Linked DNA regions of Homo sapiens: region 2 is linked to region 1. Evidence: promoter capture Hi-C in 16 types of primary human blood cells and fetal thymus (Javierre and others, 2016). All regions are on one chromosome and are shown on one strand. The core of a region is centred on a gene start or on the middle of the fragment in contact, and the rest is flanking DNA. Distances in the headings are between cores, read along the strand shown. Region 1 holds the start of AGBL2 (AGBL carboxypeptidase 2). Region 2 overlaps CELF1 (CUGBP Elav-like family member 1).

Region 1 (6,090 bases), core at 1,744-4,243:
GGCGCCTGTAGTCCAAGCCACTTGGGAGGCTGAGGCAGGAGAATCGCTTGGACCTAGGAGGCAGAGGTTGCAGTGAGCCGAGATTGTGCCACTGCACTCCAGTCTGGGCAACAGAGCAAGACTCCATCTCAAAAACAGAAAAAAAAACATTAGATCCCAGGGTCCCTGTTGGTAGACTGAGGATTAGATATATCTGCCCTGAAGAATCATAACTCCTGTGGGCTAAGAAAAACTCTAATAGAACGTGTTTCATTTCTTCAGTGTGCCTTTAATGGTTATTGGAGGTATATTTATATAAAATAAATAAGGCCGGGCACGGTGGCTCACACCTGTAATCCCAGCACTTTGGGAGGCCAAGGCAGTCAGATCACCTGAGGTTGGGAGTTCGAGACCAGCCTGACCAACATGGAGAAACCCTGTCGCTACTTAAAAAAAAAAAAAATTAGCCAGGCATGGTTGCACATGCCTGTAATCCCAGCTACTCTGAGGGGAGGCTGAGGCAGGAGAATCGCTTGAACCTGGGAGGCGGAGGTTGCGGTGAGCCGAGATCGCACCATTGCACTCCAGACTGGGCAACAAGAGCAAAATTCCGTCTCAATCAGTCAATAATAAATAAATAAATATGCACTTAGACATATACGTAAAACTGGGGTAGTGTTTGGTTGACCTATCAGAATGAAGAAGTTTGATGAAGAATATACTGATGTTTGGCTGAGAAACAAAAGATTTTCATAAACATAGACGTGATAGATCAGGTTTTTAATTTCAGTTAGATTTTTATTTGCTGGGAAATGAATACTTTTGTTAATTTTTCTTTCCACTAAAATAATCTGTATGTTGTTTTCACAGTGGCATGGCAGAGAGAAATGCTAATTTTGAAGCCCTTCCTGAGGATTGGAGAGCAAGGCTGAAGAGAAGGAAAATGGCTCCAAACACATAGTTTTTAAGTTTTTAAAACTTTTTTGTATTATTGTTTGTTTTGTGTTCAGTTCAAAGTCTTAACCAGTTTTATTGTCAAATAAACTATAAATGTTATGGGGGAGATCTTATAAATTTCCTGGGCAAGAGTGTATGCATACAAAGTTTTCACTTTTGTGAAATGTAATTTTTCTGTTTTTGCAAAGGGATGAGGTGATTGGAATTGCTTTGACCATGCTGCCTTTATTCTCAAACTGGCAAACTTAGCATGTTAGGTGTATTAACCTCATCAGTCTTGAAGAACATGTGGCTCATGAGTATAACACTTCTGTAGAGGACTCCCTGACAAAAGTGAAGAATTAACTTCTCCTCCAGAACAAGTGCAATTCAGAAGGCAGCTCTGCATTCTACCTTGCTTGACTGGAATTGTCTGAAGCTTTTTCTGGCCTCTTTTCTCTAGTCGGCCACCCCTGAAGTGCTGAGGTCTAAGTGGTTTACCTCGTGCTGATAGATGGCCACACTCTTTAGAGTAGTTCTCATAAGTTCTAGAACTGGTAGCTCGGTCGTTTCGCACACTAGGTGGCATACAGGCAGCAGCAGGTGTTCATATCCTTGATTTTGAGAATTTCCCCTCAAGTATGTGGCAGTAAATACAACAAGACACTCTATGTATTAATGTCTCCATTGTCTTAACCCTGTTCCAAAACAAAATTCACCTCCTTTCTTTATGTGAATGTATTCTCCATAAAATTCCAGTATTTAAAAAGCAGTTTACTGTTCTGTACTTTCTGTTGTATCACAATCAGGTAAAAGTCACTTTAAACTGAGGAAACGGCAAATTGTGTTTTAAAGCTCTTTGTATTTCTCCAGTTTCTGACCTTGTAAATTTGTATATATGCACTAATAAAGCTTTTTTTATAATCCTGATGGGTTATCCTTTTGCTCGTCAACTCCTGTTATTCTGATTATGTAACCAGGACTTGTTTTTTTTTCTAAGCATATACAATGCAAGGTGCAAACATTTAACAACAGCTTTCAAGAAAATGAGCAGGAGATCTTTAATGGGGAGTGGTGGGGCCAGTTTAGACAAACAGGCTTCTAGTCCCAGATGGTGCTGTGTGATCAAAGTTTTGGGGTCTAATATTATCTATAATATCTAGATTGGTTAATAGCCATATTAGATAATATTTTACCTACTTAATTCCTGGCAATGATGTAATATGGTTAACATTTCAGAAAAAAAGGTGCTTTATAGCTTTTTTCCCCCCACTGATAAAAGTAACAGATACGGTTATATTCATATATAGTTAACCAAAGACACGTGTTTGAATTTTATTGTAGTATATTTATTTTTTTGTTGTTGGTTTTTTGTTTTTTTTTTTTCTGGAGACAGAATTTCGCTCTTGTTGCTCAGGCTGGAGTGCAATGGCACGATCTCGGCTCACCGCAACCTCCGCCTCCCAGGTTCAAGTGATTCTCCTGCCTCAGCCTCCCGAGTAGCTGGGATTACAGGCATGCGCCACCACACCCAGCTAATTTTGTATTTTTAGTAGAGATGGGGTTTTTCCATGTTGGTCAGGCTAGTCTCCAACTCTCGACCTCCCAAAGTTCTGGGATTACAGGCGAGAGCCACCGCGCCTGGCCTGGAGTAAATTTCTATGCATATAATTGATTTTTTTAAACCTAATCAAAATGTGTGATTTGAATTTGTTAGCTCTGTTTCTTAAGATTTGCAGTGTAGAAGGTAATTTTTCCTTTCTAGCTGTGCAGTGGAGAGAATGTTAAGGTGAAAGGAGAGAAGCAGCAGCTCTCTTAGAGCAAATTATGCATAACAGTTATCTAAAGCCAACAGCAAACCAGCTTGGAAGTATGTTGAAGGCTACTGGCATCGTACTCATCAATGCGGTTTCGATTCCGAGGCTGGGGCTGTGATGTATGAGGGGAAGAAAGCCGCTGCCCGCCATACATGTTGCAGACCTTCCCGGGGTCCCCGCTCCCTCCTTGGGGGCGAGGCCTAGCTCCCCGGAAGCGCCCGACCGCCCCGCCCTTTCTCCGCTTCCTGCTTTCGGTTGCTAGACTACCCGGGCCCTCACAGAAGGCGGTGGCGGGCGGGTGCAGCGAGTTTGTCCCCTTGCCCGCACACTGCTTGGCCTCTGTACTTAAGTGCGGTGGCCGCCTGCCTCGCTGGAGCTTCTCTGCCGCAGCCATCCGTGCTGCTTGGGACGGGCCGGGGCGCGAAGGCGGTCGCATCCATCGCTCTGCCCTCCTGGGAAGTTTCTGCTCTCCTTCCCCGCTCCTACCCTTAGGAAACCCCCTCACCACCTGCCCCAGACCAGGTTCCTCTGAACCCTAAATTCAATCTTTAGGGCCCACTTTCCCAACCCCCTGACCTTTTTCCATCGGCACCTACCGAGACGACTTCGTCGCGTGCTCCCATACCCATTTCTTTCACTTTCCTGTGGCGAGCATCTCCTTTCTCAGGGAAAGGGAAGCATGGGGCCAGCACCTTGGGAAGAAGAAGCGGGAAGATACGCTGCCCTCCCTGTCTCAGATGCACCTCTGGCCTCGGCGTGACCACCTTGTTTAGCTGAGGAGAAGCTGGGTTGGCAGGGTTTTCTGAAGTCAAGAGGGAGCTGGGGGGCGCCCGGGGAGGTATTGGCAGTTTTTTCACTTGTCCTCTTGTGGCTTTGTAGCTTCTCTTGTGTAATCAGCTGCCTATTTGGAAATTGGGCAGGGTTTGCGACTGGATGCTAATGTCACTGACTAGTTTTCAGCCTACCATCCAGAAGTAACATGTTCCCAGCTTTGGAAACGCACCTAAAGCAGGTCGGTACACAACACGGAAAGCCACAGAAATTTCTTCGGGGAACTCCATTTCTTCGGGAACTCCACAGAAATCTGCTACTAGATGAGAAGGGATGTTCTGGTGGCATCTTTTCTCAGCTGGAGATCTTGATCCCCACGATAGAATAATTCGCATGGAATGCAGCTCGCTTGGTTTAGTCTAGTCCTATGCAACAACGCTCATGTACTTTTTGTTGAGTCTATTATGGTTTGAAAACATTATCTTGATTGAAGTGGCCTTTCCTTTCACAGACTATTCCTGATCCTTATGAAGACTTTATGTACCGTCACCTCCAATATTATGGCTACTTTAAAGGTAATACCATGTTCTTATCTAGTATCACCTTTCCTGGACTCAAGAGGAAAATTGCTTCGTTAGCTGGGAGGGTTGCACTTGGGTAGACTAATAAATAATTTGCATTGACAAATAAATACTTTTTCCTCTACCATTAGTGAAAAGTACTTCCTTTCCCCATTGATCTGCGGGTCACCTCTGTCAAGTAGACAGCATCACTTAATACAAAGGTCTGTTTCTGGGCTCTCTATTCCATTGGTCTGTTTGGCTATCCTTTACCAGTATCACTGTCTCTTAATTACTATATGGCATTAAAATAGTCTTTATCTGGAAAGACATGTCTTCCCACCTTGTTCTTCAGAAGTGTCACGGCTGTTCTTGAGTCTTTGCCTTACTATATAAATTTTACAATTGGCGGCCGGGCACGGTGGCTCACACCTGTAATCACAGCACTTTGGGAGGCCGAGACGGGTGGAGCACGAGGTCAGGAGATCGAGACCATCCTGGCTAACACGGTGAAACCCCGTCTCTACTAAAAATACAAAAAAATTAGCCGGGCGTGGTGGTGGGTGCCTGTAGTCCCAGCTACTGGGAAGGCTGAGGCAGGAGAATGGCGTGAACCTGGGAGGCGGAGCTTGCAGTGAGCCGAGATCAAGCCACTGCACTCCAGCCTGGGCGACAGAGTGAGACTCTGTCTCAAAAAAAATAAATAAATAAAAATTTAAAAAAATAAATTTTGCAATTGGCTTATGACATTTTATTTTATTTTTTATTTATTTTGAGATGAAGTCTCACCCTGTCGCCCAGGCTGGAGTGCAGTGGCACGATCTCGGCTCACTGCAACCTCTGCCTCCCAGGTTCAAGAGATTCTCCTGCCTCAGCCTCCTGAGTAGCTGGGATTACAGGCACGAGCCACCACGCCTGGGTAATTTTTGTTTCTTTCTTTTTTTTTTTTTTTTTGCGATAGAGTCTCACTCTTTTCACCCAGGCTGAAATGCAATGGCGCAATCTCGGCTCACTGCGACCTCCACCTCCTGGGTTCAAGAGATTCTCCTGCCTCAGCCTCCCAAGTAGCTGGGATTACAGGCGCCCACCACCACTCCCAGCTAATTTTTTTGTGTATTTGTAGTAGAGACGGGGTTTCAACATGTTGGCCAGGCTGGTCTTGAACTCCTGACCTCAGGTGATCCACCTGCCTAGGCCTCCCAAAGTGGTGGGATTACAGACGTGAGCTTACCGCGCCCAGTGTTTTTTTTATTCTTGAGACGGAGTTATGCTCTTGTTGCCCAGGCTGGAGTGCAGTGGTGCAATCTAGGCTTGCTGCAACTTCCACCTCGCGGGGTCAAGCGATTTTCCTGCCTCAGCCTCCCAAGTACCCAGGTAGCTGGGATTACAGGCGTGTACCACCATGCCTGGCTAATTTTGTATTTTTAGTAGAAACGGTTTCACCATGTTGGCCAGGCTGGTCTCGAACTGACCTCAGGTGATCCACCCACCTCAGCCTCCCAAAATGCCAAGATTACAGGCATGAGCCACCACGCTCGGCCTAATTTTGGTATTTTTAGTAGACACAGGGTTTCCTCATGTTGGCCAGGCTGTTCTCGAACTCCTGACCTAAGGTGATCCACCCACCTTGGCCTCCCAAAGTGCTGGGATTACAGGCGTGAGCCACTGTCCCCAGCCCGCTTATGACATTTTAAAAGATTATAGGAATTGCATTAAATCTGTAGATCAAATTTCACAAGAACTGGCAATTTTTCAACACTGGGTTCTCCAATCTATGACTATAATATTTATCTCCATTTACTTAGGTCTTTAATGTCTCCCAATAAAGATTTATAGTTTTTCATAATACTTCATATTTTTATGCTATTATAAATATTGATCTTCTTAAAATTTAATTTCCTAACTTTGTTACTGGTATATTGAAATAAGATGGAGTAATATTCATTGTATTAGTATTAATTTTATTTCTATCAAAGAATGTTGTTAAACTTTTTTATTAACTACATTAGTCCCCCCTTATCTACAGG
Region 2 (5,533 bases), core at 161-2,660, 230 kb after region 1:
CTTTTCTGTTTTACTCTCTTAGCAGTGGAAGACAGGAAGCTGTTTATTGGTATGATTTCCAAGAAGTGCACTGAAAATGACATCCGAGTCATGTTCTCTTCGTTTGGACAGATTGAAGAATGCCGGATATTGCGGGGACCTGATGGCCTGAGCCGAGGTAGGTAGTTTTAGCTTTTAAATAATCTTTTGGTTTTTTGTTTTGGTTTGGTTTGGGGTTTTTTTTTTTTTGGAGACAAGGTCTTGCTCTCTCTCACCCAGGCTGGAGTGCAGTGGTGCCTTCACAACTCACTGCAGCCTGAACCTCCCAGGATCAGCCTCCTGAGTAGCTGGGACCACAGGCATGCATCATGACACCCAGCTAATTTTTAAATTTTTTATAGAGAAAAGGTCTCCCTGTGTTGCCCAGGCTGGTCTTGAACTCCTGGACTCAAACGATCCTGTCATCTTGGCCTCCCAAAGTGCCAGGATTGTAGGTGTGAGCCACTGCACCGGGCTTGGAATCTTTTTAATTTGACCGGTGGAAACTAGCAACAGTGATTCCCTAGCCAATATGGCCCAGTCAAGATAAAGAGGTTGGGCCTGCTGCTTCCTGCTGTATATCTATGTCCTGTCTTGACTCCTCCTATCAGTTCATTCTTTTTGTCTCCCAGCCCCTCTAAGGAGTCTACATTCTATATTTCATTGTCATGTATTAAAATTTTCTCTTTTGGTGCTTTGCAAGATCCTTGATGCCAAAATGGAAATACTTTCTTCTTCCATTTTCTTTTATTTTCAAGAGGAACTAGAGGATATGAGTCCTCCTTTCTCCTGTCAAGCATTTTTTTTTTCTGTCAGTGGTTCTGTTTTTTCATTATAGCACATATCACCCTGTTGCAACATACCAGCACATGATTCCCTGAAAACAGGGACTGTGTCTGTATTGCTAGCATGATAGTCAGCACATAGTAGGTGCTCAGTTAATGTTTGTCAGAGAAATAAATGAATGCATGAGTTACTGACTCTTCTCTTACCAGGTTGTGCATTTGTGACTTTTACAACAAGAGCCATGGCACAGACGGCTATCAAGGCAATGCACCAAGCACAGACCATGGAGGTAGGGAGCAGATAGGTGATGGGGAAAATTCCTCAGCTTGGGAATGCTGGGACAGTTGGCCATTAAAGTCCAGCAGCATGTGCAGCATCTGATTGCCCAGAAGGTTAAACAGCCAACATCTTAAAGTTAAAAACCACTGATTTCTTTAAAATTAACGTATTGGAAATGCTCTCCCTACCCCTTTTTTTGAGATGGGGTCTTACTTTGTCACCTGGGCTGGAGTGCAGTGGGAATATCATGGCTCACTGCAGCCCCAACCACCCAGGCTCAAGTGATCCCCCCTACCTCTGCCACTCAAGTAGCTGGGACTACAGGTGCACACCAGCACGCCCAGTTAATTTTTGTATTTTTTTTTAATAGCGACCGTTTTGCCATGTTGCCCAGGCTGGTCTAAAATTCCTGGGCTCAAGTGATCCACCCGCCTCAGCCTCCCAAAGTGTTGGGATTACAGTCTCTTCTCTCTTGTGTCTATCATGAGGAGAATCATTTGGCAGTGAATGAAATTAGAATGTAACCTGCATGTCATCCAAAAGGAAGATTTTTTTTCTTCTTTTCAGATGGAGGAATTTGACCCTTTCGTTATGGTCTTTTCACAGGGTTGCTCATCACCCATGGTGGTAAAATTTGCTGATACACAGAAGGACAAAGAACAGAAGAGAATGGCCCAGCAGCTCCAGCAGCAGATGCAGCAAATCAGCGCAGCATCTGTGTGGGGAAACCTTGCTGGTCTAAATACTCTTGGACCCCAGTATTTAGCAGTGAGTCTTTGTGGTTTGCTTTCTGCAGACTGTGCAAGCTCCCAGCTGTTCCTTCTTCTGCTGTCCCTAGCCAACAAACACAGTGGCATTTACAACTTTTGGCATATAGAAATTATATGTAAAAATTCAGGTAGTACTATTTCTTTTAGTCCTGTTAGTCTCTTTCTCTCTCTATATATATGTATCTCTGGACATGCATCTCTGGTTATATCTTGAGGCTTTTGCTGCAACTAAAGTGAATTCCTGGTTTCCCGTTTTAAAGATTTAGAAACATCTTGTGTCCTTGCCTCCAAGAAAGAAATTCCTGAGGGAATCTTAACTACCAGTGTCTTTCTCCATATCTCTTTCTACCAGATGTAGAGGGCATCATTAAAATCCTTATTGAGTCTTTCCTAAAGAGTATGATAAATGTTTCTTTCAGCGGACTTGAGAGATCAAGAGATTTTTTTTCTTTTTTTGCTTTATTTATTTATTTATTTATTTATTTTTTGAGACGGAGTCTCACTCACTCTGTCACCCAGGCTAGAGTGCAGTGGCACAATCTTGGCTTACTGCAACCTCCACCTCGGGTTCAAGTGATTCTCCTGCCTCAACTTCCCAAGTAGCTGGGACTACAGACACACACCATCACACCCAGCTAATTTTTGTATTTCTAGTAGGGATGGGCTTTCACTGTGTTGGCCAGGCTGGTCTCGAACTCACGACCTCAGGTGATCCACCTGTCTTGGCCTCCCAAAGTGCTGGGTTTACAGGTGTGAGCCACTGCGCCTGGCGGAGATCAAGAGATTAACATGAACATTTTTAAATGAGCATTACAGGTGTATATTCAAGTTTACTACATTGTAAATAGACTTCCTTTAATTTGATCTCTCTGTTGTCGTGAGCCAAAAGAAGGTTGTCTAGTCCAAAAGAAGGTCTCGCCCCAATTTGTGATTTAGATTTACTAGGTCTGCAGTGTATATGTTACAGGGGATTATTAATGGAAAAGAATTGGGCCAGCACAAGACAGTTAAAACCACCCATTTGTGAGTCAAAGAGGAAAAAGGTCATCTTAGGCTATTAATGGTGAAACCACTAGATTTGTATGGATGATACAAAAATATTCACATAGAAATAGCTAGTATAGTCATTTATTCCTCATCATTTCAAGTATTATTCTGTATGGAAACAGACAAAAGGCACTGATTTCTGTCTCCCAGTACTGAATTTTGGTTTAGTTCCAGTGGTTTTCATATTTCTAATATCTTATAAGAAATCCCAGTTTAGGCCGGGCGCTGTGACTCACGCCTGTAATCCCAACACTTTGGGAGGCTGAGGTGAGTGGATCGCCTGAGGTTGGGAGTTTGAGACCAGCCTGGCCAGCATGGTGAAACCCTGTCTATACTAAAAATACAAAAAAATTACATGGGTGTGGTGGCAGGTGCCTGTAATCCCAGCTGCTCGGGAAGCTGAGGCAGGAGAATGGCTTGAACCTGGGAGGCGGAGGTTGCACTGAGCGGAGGTTGCAGTGAGCCAAGATCGCACCATTGCACTCCAGCCTGGGCAATAGAGCGAGACTCTGTCTCACAAAAAAAAAAAAAAAAAAAAAAAAAGAAGAAGAAAAAAAAAAAAAACCCCAGTTTATCCTAGCTAGTATTTCTCTGAAGTTTTTTTAAAAAAATATAAAGAGTTGGGGTTGTTTTGTTTTGTTTTGTTTTGAAGCCTCGCTCTGTTGCCCAGGTTGGAAAACAGTGGCGCAATCTCTGCTCACTGCAACCTCCAACTGCAAGCAGCTGGGATTACAGTCATGTGCCACCACGCCTGGCTAATTTTTGTAGTTTTAGTAGAGACAGGGTTTTGCTTATGTGAGCCAGGCTGGTCTCAAACTCCCGACCTCAAGTGATTTGCCTACCTTGCCCTCCCAAAGTTCTGGGATTACAGGCGTGAACCACTGGGTCCGGTTATATTTCAACAGAAAAAATTGTTTCTTAGTGCTGAAACATTGCTTATATGTTCAGAAAATTCAGGGAGGTTTTAGTCATCTGCAGAAATGATAATGCTTTGAAAATGGTCTACATGCTATGCATTTGCTTTTCTTAGAGACTTTTGGAGCCCCCCTTTAGGGAAGGTTAACCTTTTTGTTGTCATTGCCACTACCAGCAAGTACATGATGGCATGTGTTGAGAGCTGTGTTCTCTTTGTTTTGGTTAGACATGATTCCTGCCCTAAGAGCTAATCTCATTTGGAGGGAAATGAAGGGACCAAGTACAGTATTCACCGTCCACCAGTTAGGACTGAACACATAGCCCAAGGTGTTTAAGAAGAAAAAGGCCAGGCGCGGTGGCTTATGCCTGTAATCCCAGCATTTTGGGAAGCCGAGGCAGGCAAATCACCTGAGGTTAGGAGTTTGAGACCAGCCTGACCAACATGGTGAAACCCCGTCTCTACTAAAAATACAAAAATTAGCTGGGTGTGATGGTACACACCTGTGGTCCCAGCTACTCGGGAGGCTGAGGCAGGAGAATCGCTTGAACCTGGAAGGCGGAGGTTGCAGTGAGCTGAGATCACCATTGTACTCCAGCCTGGCGACAGAGCGAGACTCCGTCTCAAAAAAAAAAAAAAAAAAGTGTAGACGTGGGTGCTAGTGGACTGTGTGATAGTACATCATCATTAATTATGAGGTTCTTTCTGGACTATGTGGACTTGAGTTAGCCAGGCTCTACTGTCCTGGAGGAGTTGGTTTTTATCTTTTTATCCTTTGAGAAGCGGGGGGAAAGGGTGTATAGGTGCATTTTTTCCCCCATTCTGTTCCTGGAGGTTTGTAGACCTCCTGAAACTTATCCATGGTCTCTAGCCTGGAAGGATTTGCGGCGACAGAGAAACCAGGTCAGATGTTTATAGGAATGGGAAACAGGTTGAATAAAAGGATCCTGTACAAGAATACCAATTTTCCATAAACAATACTAATTGGGTTTAGTTGGAGCAAAAGTTTTCAGCAAGCTGGTTAGATGAAGGTTGTGGTTTGCCAATATACAAAGTAAACTAATGCCACAAACTCAGGGACAGGCCCTCTTACTTTATTTGTCATGGGACCATCATTGAAGGAGAACGTACTCTGAACCTGGTATAGACTAATCCATCAGTCATTTGGTCATCTGCAACAGGGAAGACCAGTTTGGAGGGGAGGAAGTAAATAAGGTTGGATAGATGTGTAGCTGGAGTGATTATTAGTCATGTGGTCCATTGTGACCAATAAAGGGTAACTCCAAGAAATACTATGAAATGTTTAGATTTGATATTTAAAATAGTTGTGTGAAGTAGAAATTGAGTATCCAGATGGAAACAATCTGCAGAGTGAGATGTGTGGACCTAACTAAGGAGAACTTGGGAGAGGGTAGCTGGAAATGGCATTCATTCATTCGCAGACAATAATCACAGTTGACTGCGTAGCTCCTCAAGTTTAGCTTATTATCCTGCTGTAGTTCTGTCCTTTGCTGTGCTGAATTCTGCTGCCCAGGGACTTGAGCTTGGCTCAGTATTCAGTGAACATACTATCTTCTGGGCCAGTGCTTTAGCTGTGTTTTTTTTTTGTCCTGTGCTGTCATAAGCCTCATGTTTCTGTTGTGTTGGCTTGGGTTCTTGTCTTTGACTTTCTTCTCTCTGGGGGCCTCTGCACTCTCGCTTTGCTGTGCTGTAGAGTTAT

Evidence for each region. The method cuts DNA at HindIII sites, captures the fragments that hold promoters and counts their contacts. A CHiCAGO score of 5 or more calls a contact.
Region 2: a contact is called between a fragment that was not itself captured here and the fragment with the promoter of AGBL2 in region 1, in 1 of 17 cell types (M2 macrophages). The highest score is 5.2, in M2 macrophages.

The regions. Positions count from the first base shown.
Region 1 is chr11:47,712,272-47,718,361 of GRCh38, reverse strand. AGBL2 (AGBL carboxypeptidase 2) reads left to right here and starts at 2,993. Exons shown (of 19, transcript NM_024783.4): 1 at 2,993-3,187; 2 at 3,612-3,744; 3 at 4,015-4,078. The coding sequence starts at 3,712. FNBP4 (formin binding protein 4) reads left to right here. Exons shown (of 17, transcript NM_015308.5): 17 at 850-1,868. The coding sequence ends at 940. RefSeq lists an enhancer at 3,256-3,315. The HindIII fragment of the contact is 6,151 bases long and covers 1,830-6,090 here.
Region 2 is chr11:47,479,013-47,484,545 of GRCh38, reverse strand. CELF1 (CUGBP Elav-like family member 1) reads left to right here. Exons shown (of 15, transcript NM_001376376.1): 7 at 23-157; 8 at 1,014-1,093; 9 at 1,690-1,851. Among named protein-coding and RNA genes, the nearest start is that of RAPSN, 33 kb to the right of the region's middle. The HindIII fragment of the contact is 9,324 bases long and covers 1-5,533 here.